Linked DNA regions of Homo sapiens: region 1 is linked to region 2. Evidence: promoter capture Hi-C in human tissues and cell types (Jung and others, 2019). All regions are on one chromosome and are shown on one strand. The core of a region is centred on a gene start or on the middle of the fragment in contact, and the rest is flanking DNA. Distances in the headings are between cores, read along the strand shown.

What was found. Contacts are between HindIII fragments. The study calls those that stand out against the background at their distance.
Region 1: a fragment that was not itself captured here is called in contact with the fragment with the promoter of CNTLN in region 2 in 4 of the 25 tissues and cell types used here (aorta, lymphoblastoid cells, pancreas and 1 more).

The regions. Positions count from the first base shown.
Region 1 is chr9:17,176,337-17,181,940 of GRCh38, forward strand. The region is part of intron 2 of CNTLN (centlein); the gene reads left to right. Among named protein-coding and RNA genes, the nearest start is that of CNTLN, 44 kb to the left of the region's middle. The HindIII fragment of the contact is 6,020 bases long and covers 1-5,074 here.
Region 2 is chr9:17,133,756-17,139,388 of GRCh38, forward strand. It overlaps CNTLN (centlein), which reads left to right and starts at 1,285. Exons shown (of 26, transcript NM_017738.4): 1 at 1,285-1,670. The coding sequence starts at 1,311. RefSeq lists an enhancer at 1,566-2,129. The HindIII fragment of the contact is 19,584 bases long and covers 1-5,633 here.

The DNA of each region.
Region 1 (5,604 bases), core at 815-3,314, 43 kb after region 2:
ATCACTTGATATGACCAGGAGATTTTTCTTCTTCAGACTGTTGATATGGTGGAATACATGGATTTATTTTTGAATACTGAACCAGCTTTGCCTACTGGAATAAATTTCACTTGGTCGTGGAGTACAATTATACATTGCTAAATACTATTTGCTAATGTTTTGTTAAGGATTGATTGCATCTCTAATCATGAGGGATATTGGTGTATAGCTTTCTTTTATTGTACTATCTTTGGTTTTTATATCAGAGATAAGTAGCTTCATAAAATGAATCAGGAAGTGGTGCTTTCTCTTCTGTTTTCTGGAACAAATTGTGTAGAGTTGATGTTATTCTTCTTCAAATATTTGGTGGAATTCTTTAGTAAATTATCTGAACCTGGAGGGTTCTTTTCTGGGAGTTTCCAAATTGCCAATTCGCTTTCCTTAATAGTTATAGGATTGTTCAGTTATCTATTTCATGTTGGTGAAGTGTGGTAGTTTGTGCATCTTGAGGAACTGGTTTTTCTAAGTTGTCAAATTTATGTGTATAGCGTTGTTCACAGTTTTTTCTTGTTATGGTTTTATGTCTGCAGTGTCTGTTGATAATCCTGTTTCTTGATATTGATAACAGATGTGTCTTTTCCCTATTTTTTTCCCTTGTCAGTCTGCTAGAAGTTTTTGCAAAGTATTGCACTTCCAAAAAGTTCTTAGTTTCATTGATTTTCTCTATTATTTTTCTGTTTTCTATTATGTTGATTTCTGCTTTTTATTATTTCCTTTTTGTTGTTATCTCTGTCAATAATTTTCAGTTTCTTGGCTGGGCGCGGTGGCTCACGCCTGTAATCCCAGCACTTTGGGAGGCTGAGGCAGGCAGATCACGAGGTCAGGAGACCGAGACTATCTTGGCTAACATGGTGAAACCCCGTCTCTACTAAAAATACAAAAAATTAGCCTGGCGTGGTGGCAGGCACCTGTAGTCCCAGCTGCTCTGGAGGCTGAGGTAGGAGAATGGCGTGAACCCGGGAGGCGGAGCTTGCAGTGAGCTGAGATTGTGCCACTGCACTCCAGCCTGGGCGACAGAACAAGACTCTGTCTCAAAAAAAAAAAAATTATTTTCAGTTTCTTGAAGTGGAAATGTGTCCGGAATTGGTGGGTTCTTCGTCTCACTGACTTCAACAAAGAAGCTGCGGACCCTTGTGGTGAGTGTCACAGTTCTTAAAGGCGGTGTGTCCGAAGTTTGTTCCTTCTGATGGTCGGATATGTTCGGAGTTTCTTCCTTCTGGTGGGTTCGTGGTCTCACTGGCTCAGGAGTGAAGCTGCAGACCTTTGCGGTGAGTGTTACAGCTCTTAAGGCAGCACATCCGGAGTTGTTCGTTCCTCCCAGTGGGTTTGTGGTCTCGATGGCTTCAGGACTGAAGCTGCAGACCTTCGCGGTGAGTGTTACAGCTCATAAAGGCAGTGTGGACCCAAAGAGTGAGCAGCAGCGAGATTTATTGCAAAGAGCGAAAGAACAAAGCTTCCACAGTATGGAAGGGGACCTGAATGGGTTGCCACTGCTGGCTCAGGCAGCGGTGCTTTTATTCTCTTATCTGGCCCCACCCACATCCTGCTGATTGGTCCATTTTGACAGGGTGCTGATTGGTGCATTTACAATCCCTGAGCTAGACACAAAAGTTCTCCACATCCCCACTAGATTAGCTAGATATAGAGTGTTGATTGGTGCATTCACAAACCCTGAGCTACACACAGGGTGCTGATTGGTGTGTTTACAAACCTTGAGCTAGATACAGAGTGCTGATTGGTGTATTTACAATATCTTAGCTAGACATAAAGGTTCTCCCAGTTCCCACCAGATTAACTAGATACGGAGTGTCGATTGGTGCATTCACAAGCACTGAGCTAGACACAGGGTGCTGATTGGTATGTTTACAAACCTTGAGCTAGATTCAGAGTGCTGATTGGTATATTTACAATCCCTTAGCTAGACATAAAGGTTCTCCAATTCCCCACCAGACTCAGGAGCCCAGCTGGCTTCACCCAGTGGATCCCGCACCCGGGCCGCAGGTGGAGCTGCCTGCTAGTCCCGTGCCCTGTGCCCGCACTCCTCAGCCCTTGGGCGGTAGATGGGACTGGGCGCCCTGGAATAGGGAGTGGTGCTGGTTAGGGAGGCTCGGGCTGCCCGGGATCCCACAGCAGGGCGGGGGCGGGGGGTGCATGGGGGACTCAGGCATGGCGAATTGCAGGTCTGGAGCCCTGCCCCACAGGGAGGCAGCTAAGGCCCGGTGAGAAATCGAGCACAGCAGCTGCTGGCCCAGGTGCTAAGCCCCTCACTGCCCGGGGCCTGCCGGCTGGCCGGCCGCTCCAAGTGCGGGGACCACCGAGCCCACACCCACCCGGAATTCACGCTGGCCCACAAGGGTTGCGGGCAGCCCCAGTTCCTGCCAGCGTCTCTCCCTCCACACCTGCCTTCAAGCTGAGGGAGTCAGCTCTGGCCTTGGCCAGCCCAGCAAGGGCTCCCACAGTGCAGCGGTGGGCTGAAGGGCTCCTGAAGCGTGGCCAGAGTGGGCGCCAAGGCCGAGGAGGCGCCGAGAGCGAGGGAGGGCTGTGAGAGCTGCCAGCACGCTGTCACCTCTCAGAAGTGTAGATTATTGGCCGGGCGCGGTGGCTCACGCCTGTAATCCCAGCACTTTGGGAGGCCGAGGCGGGCGGATCACGAGGTCAGGAGATCGAGACCATCCCGGCTAAAACGGTGAAACCCCGTCTCTACTAAAAATACAAAAAATTAGCCGGGCGTAGTGGCGGGCGCCTGTAGTCCCAGCTACTTGGGAGGCTGAGGCAGGAGAATGGCGTGAACCCGGGAGGCGGAGCTTGCAGTGAGCCGAGATCCCGCCACTGCACTCCAGCCTGGGCGACAGAGCGAGACTCCGTCTCAAAAAAAAAAAAAAAAAAAAGAAGAAGTGTAGATTATTGATTTGAGATTTTTCCTGTTTTGTAACGTACACCTTTAATTTTATAAATTTTCCTCTCAGCTGCTTTAACTTCATCCCCCATATTTTGATATGCTGCCTTTTTATTTTTATTCAGTTCTATGTATTTTTAACTTTCCTGTGAGACTCTCTGTATGACCAAGGATTATGTAGAAATGTGTTATTTAATTTTCAAGTGTTTGGCGATTTTTCCTTTGCCAGATTTTTAGTTTGATTTCATATGGTCAGAGAATGTACTCTGTGATTTAAATTCTTTAAATTTGACAAGGTTTGTTTTGTGGCCCAAAGTATGGTTTATCTTTGTATAAATCTATGGGCATTTGAAAATAATATATATTTTGCTGATGTTGGTGGATTGTTCCATAAATATTGATTAGATCCTATAGGTTGATTTTGTTGCTGAGCTCTTCTGTACCTTTGATAATTCACTGGCTAGTTCTATACATTGTTGAGAGAGGCATTTTGAAGTTGCCAAACATAATTATTGATTTATCTATTACTCTTTTCAGTTCTATCAGTTTTTTTTCTGTATATTATTTTGAGCTCTAAAGTCTAAAGTTGGTACGTACACATTTAGGATCACTACGTCTTCTTGGTAGATTCTTTTATCATTGTATAATGTCCCTTACTTTCCCTAGTAATTTTCTTTGCTCTGAAGTACACTTTATTCAATGTTAATATAACCACTCTTCTTTCTTTTGAAGAATGATTACATATCTTTTTTCCTTCCTTTTACTTTCAACTTACCTATATTGCCATATTTGAAATGAGTTTCTTTTAGTTACTATATAGTTGCATCATATTTTAAAATCTACTCTGTTGAGCACTTTTGATTTGTATATTTTAGATTATTTACATTCAGCTTGATTATTGATATGTTAGCATTTACGTGTGTCATTTTGCTTTTTTTTCTGTTTGCTATCTCTGTTTTTTTTTTTTTCCTGCCTTCCTGTTGGCTATTGGAACGCATTTTAGAATTTCATTTTGATTTATCTGTATTGGTTTTGGTGGTATCTCTTTGTATATATCTTTAGTGGTTGCTCTAATTATTATATTATATTATATTATATTATATTATATATACATAACTTAGCACAGTGTACTGGTATCAATATTTTACTACTTTAAGTGACATTTATAATAGAAACCTTTCTCTCTATTTTCCTTTTCTTTCCCCTATATAATATAGTTGCCATGAATATTTTTTGACCCACATTTAGAACCACATAAGATATTATTATACTTTTTGTTTCAGCCATCAAACCTAATTTAGAAAACTGAAGAAGACAAGGAAAGTCTGTTGTATTTATGCAGATTTTTGCCTTTACTCTTTTCCTTCTTCCTTCTTGATGTTCCAGGATCCCTCCATTTAAAATTTCTTTTCTATTTAGAAAACTTACTTTAGCTATACTTTTTTGTTTGGTCTCATGACAACCAATTCCTAGATTTCCCCCCTCCTATTTTTTAAGAATGTCTTGATTTCCTTTAATTCCTAAAAATTATTTTCACTGGTTATATTATAGAATTGTGCGTTGATTCTTTTCTTTTCTTTCGGTATTTGAAAAATGCCATGCCCCTTCCTTCTGGTTTTGGTGGTTTCCAGCAAGAAATCTGCTGTCATCTGAATCATTGTTTTTAGGTAATAATGGTATTTCTGTGTCACTATCTTCAAGATTTTTTCTTAGTTTTTAGATTTTGGAAGTTTTCGTATGATATGACTTGGTATAGATTTATTTGAGATTATTGTGTTCGGGTTTGTTCAGCTTCATGAATCTGTATGATTATGTCTTTTGCCAAACTTGATAAATTTTGAGTCACTGTTTCTTTGTATATTTATTGACCTGCCTTCTTTCTCTTCTACCTAGGCTCAGGTGTTGTAAATATTAGATCTTTGACAGGCCTCTGAGGTGGTGTTCGTTTTGTCTATTTTCCATGTTGTTCATATTTGGTAAATTCTGTTGTTCTCTTTTGCTTTTCACTGATTCTTTCCTGTCCTCTCCAGTTGGCTGTTGAGCCCATCTATTGAGTTGGGTTTTGTACTTTTCAGGCATAAAATTTGTATTTGTTTTTTCGTTGTATCTTCTGTCTCTTTGCTTAGACTTTCTGTTTCTTTGCTGAGGCTTCCAATTTGTTTCTTTTACCTTCATAACTGCTCATTGAAGCATTTTCATTATGGCTGTTTTGAAATTGTTGTCACATAATTCTGACATCTCTGTCATCTTGGTGTTGGCATCTGTGGATTTGTTAACAATTCAAGATATTCCTGGTTCTTGGTATAACAAATGATTTTCTGATTGAATCTGGATGCTTTGGGTATTACATTATGAACTCTGTATCTTATTTAAACCTTCTATTTTCTCTGGCTTTCACTGATGACATTCTATCAGAGGAGGAGTTAGCCCCTCCTATTTACTGCCGGAAGAGTTTAGAAGTTTAGGTTCCCCTCTGGTCTCTGAAGACACCTGAGGAATATGATGCTCTTTTTTATTGCTGGATGGGTGTATTCTCACCCTTTATTAGGCCTTCACTAATGCCACCCTAGGTGGAAGGGGCAGGAATGTCTCCCATGTGGCTTCCACTGTCATCACGGGAGGAAGGGAGCCTTGTTATTGCTGGGCAGAGGTGAAAATTCTGACTCTTC
Region 2 (5,633 bases), core at 35-2,534:
TAGCACTGGACTCAGCATATGGTAAATGTTCAGTAGGTTAGCTAGTTCTAAGACAGGCTTATAAACATACTTTTTCTAATGTACTCTTTAATAAGTTTTTGTGAGGAATTCACCTTCAGTTTGAAAGAAGTCCACTTATCTTGGTTGCCTTGGCAGGATTCTAATTGGGAGGGTGTCTTTTGGCATCCTGACTAGATTCTCATGCAGAGATGGTGATATTTTGGTTAAATGAAGTTAACAGTAAAGTGGTCATCTCTCTACTTCTGCTCTCAACCCCCATCTCAGCTTTCCCCAAGTATTCTGGAACCCTTTCTGAAGAAGAGGGCAGTTCTAACTTTCAGGGATGTTCTGGTGCCAGCTCAATATGCATCTCATTAATCTTATCAATAGTAACAAAGTATTTGAAGGGCAAAGAAAGATACGATTACTACCTATTTGAAGTTTATAAAGAAAGCCAGAAGAAAAAGAAAAAAAAGAGAACAAAAGATAAAGTAGGTCTTGTTTCTTCATCCACGCTCCAAATTACTGATTTCAAACTGCTCCAAGGACCCAAACTGTTCAGCAATGTGGGCTACACTTCCTCTGATATCCAGCCAACGCATAAAGAAGCTGACATAAAAACTCAAAGGAAATCATGACTCCTGCAAAACAAAAGACAAAGGGTGTACAAAGGATCATCATTCAAGTTGGAAACCTGCTTGATAGTCCCAGATCAGCACAAGGCTTTCCACATCTCCTTGACATTAGTCAGCTGGATGTCAGCTGTACTAAAGCAGTTTTGCCAAGGGGTGTGAAGAAAACACTTAAGTGTAAAACGTATTCCTTGATCCTCAAGGAGCTTACAACAGGGCTGGGGAGATTAGCCGTGTAACTGACACTCCAGGGCGGTCAATGAAACGTGTCACACGAGTTGGCAGGGGCCTTGAAGGAGAGGGATTTCACAGTTAAGGATCATTTGGGGCTGGGGGCTTGTCAAGGAAGGCTTTAAGAGGTGGGATGTAAGTGGCAGGCAGGGCTTTAGGTGGGCGGGAAATCCAGGCGATCCTGGCCAAGGACTCAGGCACAGGACGCTGGGATGGCCTGCCCGGCGGACCGGCCTTACCCTTTCGGGCCACGGCGCGTGCGTACCCCAAGGCTCGCGCTGGGCGCATTGCCCGCGGGAAGCCGGCCAGGACCAGAGAACACGGGACACCGCGGGCCAAGGCGGGAAAAGCCTCGCGCATGCGCGGTTCGGCGTTCCGGGCTCGCCGGGTTGGGGAAAGGGAGGTGGAGTTTCCAACAGGGAACTTGACCCGTTAGCAGCCGCAGCCATGGCGGCGCGTTCGCCTCCCTCACCGCACCCTTCGCCCCCAGCGCGACAGCTGGGCCCCAGGTCCCCACGTGTTGGGCGGGGAGCTGAAGTACACGCAATGCGCAGCGAGGCCTCGGGTTTTGCCGGCGCAGCGCGGGAGGTGGTCGCGGACGAAAGTGATAAAATCTGGGTGGGTGAAGAAGGGTCAGGGGGCCGGCGAGGGCCTGGGGGGGCAGCTCCGGCTCATGCTCCCCTCCTCAGCGCGCCCATGGGGTCCAGACGGCTAGAGGGCATCTCGGTAGAGGAGGCGATGGTGACCCGGACGCAGCTGCTGGAGGAAGAGCTGAGCAGCCTAAAGGAGGAGTTGGCCCTGTGTCAGGTATCGAGGAGTCTCGCAGTCCCCCTTTCCCCACCACAGCGGGGCCGGGACCCGTGGGGAGGCGCGCCTTTCTCCCTCTGCCTTGGGACCTACCCCGCCCAGCGACGCTCCCTGGCAGATGCACACCCTGCTTCGCTCGCGGCCGGGGGCTGGAGGGACGCGGCTGCGCCCGGCTCCCCAAACCCGGGCCCCTGCCCCTTTCCGAACTGCGGCCAGACAGGCTTCGCCTCCGCGCCCGGGTTTGGTTTTGGTCACTTGGATACTCGCAGTCGCATCCTCTCCGCTTCCCCCCCAAGCCCAAGTTCTTGGTGGTGACGGTAGCTGATACCTGCCGGGGGCCCAGGAGTGACATGCAGTCCACTAGTTGAAATGAACAGGAAAGTGTAAACACTTCGGTTAGAGTAAAATCCATCGATGAAGGAGCCTGTTTTTAAAATTTCAAACCCACACTTGGCTTTGTTTTTACCCAGTCAAACTTAAGTTGTAAACACAGACGAGTAACGTTTAGAAAGTCTCAGAGCCGGGAACTTAACAATAGATGATGCTTGGTACTTGTTTATTAACCAGCTATGGTAATTCCGCGGTCCTTGAGTGAGAAATCACATTTTCATGTGATCTTGCCAGTGAAAAACATTTGCTAAATCAATTGCATTAAAATTACTTTCCTGTTTGTAGAGTTTTTGTAAGGATGGACTTGACTATACTCATGTTCAAAGAGATTGAATTTTCCTTTAGTTTTGCATCCTTACCATCATCTCTTTTGATTTTACCAGAACCTTTAGATAGGGTTGGGAGATTGGATGTGGGAAACTCACTGAACAGTAGATCTTTAAGTCACTCTGTCTTCAACTTAGAAACCAATTAGGAGCTGCTGAACATCAAAGTAACTTTGTGAACAGTATCATCAGTTTAATAAAACAGTTCATGAAATTCATTCTCTGTCGCCCAGGCTGGAGTGCAGTGGTGCAGTCTCAGCTCACTGCAAGCTCCGCCTCCCGGGTTCACGCCATTCTCCAGCCTCAGCCTCCCGAATAGCTGGGACTACAGGTGTCCGCCACCACGCCTGGCTAATTTTTTGTATTTTTAGTAGAGATGGGGTTTCACCGTGTTAGCCAGGACAGTCTCGATCTCCTGACCTCGTGGTCCGCCAGCCTTGGCCTTCCAAAGTGCTGGGATTACAGAAATTCATTCTCTCATAGTTTGTTCTGTTGGATTCTTTTGCCCATTTTATAGGTCCTTGCTGACTGAGTGAAGGGTGTAAAAATGGGACCATCTTCAAATTGAATGTGCCTTTGGTTAAACAAGGTTGGGACATTTAATATGGTGCCCTCTTTTCGTTTTACCATTTTTCTGTTCTTCGTTGGATAAGGAGCAAAGGGATAAATAAATGACAACAATGAATTGAAGCATTTGTCATCTGCAGACCTCACCCTTTGGGGAGTTTTAAGATGTGAACCCATGATAAAGGCCTTTGATACTCTGAGTCCTAATCTAAGACACTCTTTGGCATATTTTCCGCACTCTTTCCTCCCACTTCTGCCTCCCCACATAGTTAGGCCTTTAGCTGGCTAAAGAGCTAAGATACTTTTTTATGACCGACTTGGTTAAGGAAGTCAGTCTATTGGAAACAGCCTGATGAACCTCTTCCCACAAATACTTACATTCTTTAAAAATGTGGCTCCAAACATGGTGTTGGCTTTTGTGACCTCGGACATATATAGACTAGGAAAATGATTGACATACTCTTGGCAAATGTAAGAATACAGAGATGGTCATAATAGTCTAGAATGATGATCTCTTAGATTTTGTAATATTAATACTCTTATATAATTGTAGGCAGTATCCCGCACCATAAAAATCTTAGTCAAATCAGACTCCTGCTCTTCGGGAATCTTGGGGAAAAATAGTAATTGAACTCCCAATTGTTTTGTAAAAAGCATTTAGGTGATTAAATATTCACTTTTATATCTTTTAAAGTATACTCTCCCGCTTATTTATTCAGCTAGAGATCACAGTACCCAAGAATACATAGCATTAAAACTGCTGAAAATTACAACTCGAAGTAAAATTTTGTATCTCAATCTAGTAAGTACACACATATACAAACATATATTTTCAGAAAGAATACATGCCCTAATACTGTGTGGGCTGATATTTTTTCAGTTCTATTCCTTTAAAAAATGCTGTCCAGATCTAAATTAATTTCAGAACCCAACAAGGCTTGAAACATACAGTTTAGGAAAAAGAACACTGCTAATTAGTCCATGGTCATAAGTAGTAGCTTCATTTAATTTGTTTTGCTTTCACATTCAACTTATGGGAATTCAGTGATGTGTGCTTGGTGAAGTTTGAGTAATTCCCCATACCATTCTACATCATTGGAATGCCTCAGAATAAGCATGTAATAGAAAGCAATCAAATGTTTCTCTTAATATCAGCATCTCATCCCACTCTAAGTGATTGTATTATCTAATTAAACTTTAAAAAAATATGGCCCCCTGATTAGCAACTGAACTATAAATAATGCTTATATGAAGAAAAAGTGATTAATTTCAATGAGGGAAGAAAAGCTATCTGTATTGGACTTACTGAGGGTAGTAGGTAAGCTTCCAAATGTAGCTTTTTCCTAAGGAATTTTTCAAGGGTGTTCCAAAGGGTAATTTTGCATCCATGGCATTTAATGCCCTATTTCACTAATTTAGAACCTAACTCCACTACACTTTTAATTTTGATTATATATTTCAAGAATGTGTTCTGTTTGTGATAAAGGATGCTGGGGCATGTGTATTTGTACATTTATCACCATTTATAGAGTGAGATGAGAAAAAAGTGTTATGTTTACATAGAAAGAGTAATATGTTTATATAGCATTTATAAAGCTTATTTTTTGGTATCAGGCAAAAATATTGACTAAACCTATAAGCCAGTTTTAGGAAAAAAATTAGGGTATTTAAATGAAATATGAAATTAGTTTCATCATTAAAGCTCATCCACTTTAATGATGAAACCAACTTTTGAAGCAGGCGATGTTGGAATTGTATGTGATCAGAGAAGTCAGCCAGTTATATTTTATGTTAGAAATTTAGATGTGTTAAAACTTCATTTATTCACAAAGAAAAACAAATTTGAGAACTTACTGTGTAATTCCACCAGTTGTTTGTAGCTGTATTCTACTTGGCGAGTCTTTTTGTGAAATTATTTTTCATGCTAATAATTTACTAAGTGGCTACCTGGTGCCATATTTTGTAAGTAAACTCTTGACATCCTTTGCCCTGAGCTCTGATGACCAAATATTTGTTTAGATTTAGGAAACAGTTTCAAGTGTTTGTTGAGTTCATTCCTCCAGTAGAGGTCAATTGAGGGCTTAATATATTGCCAACACTAAATTATTTTTTGTGGGACTAGGTACCCAGTGAAAAATGGCAATTTGGGGTGTCTGTGTTTGTATAGATGGTATCTATTTCCAGGTCAGTTGATGAAAGACAAAACCAATCCACCTCCAGGGAAATTTAGACCTAGTATTTAGTATTTAGTCAACTGTTTCATAGCCCAAGTTTAATAAACTTTGTGAAAATGATTAGGAATTTTTATTTTTAATTTTTAAAAATTATTATTTGATTCTGTTTGGAAGTTCTATAGTGAGAAAAAAGAATTATTATTTTATTTTTATTTTTTATTTTTAGATGCAGTCTCGCTCTGTCGCCCAGGCTGGGGTGCAGTGGTGCAATATGGGCTCACTGTAACCTCTGCCTCCCTGGTTCAAGCTATTGTCCTGCCTCAGCCTCCTGAGTAGCTGGGATTACAGGTTCATGCCACCACGCCTGGCTGATTTTTGTATTTTTAGTAGAGACGGGGTTTCACCGTGTTGGTCAGGCTGGTCTCAAACTCCTGACCTTGTGATCTGCCCGCCTTGGCCTCCCAAAGTGCTGGGATTACAGATGTGAGCCACTGCACCTGGCCTGA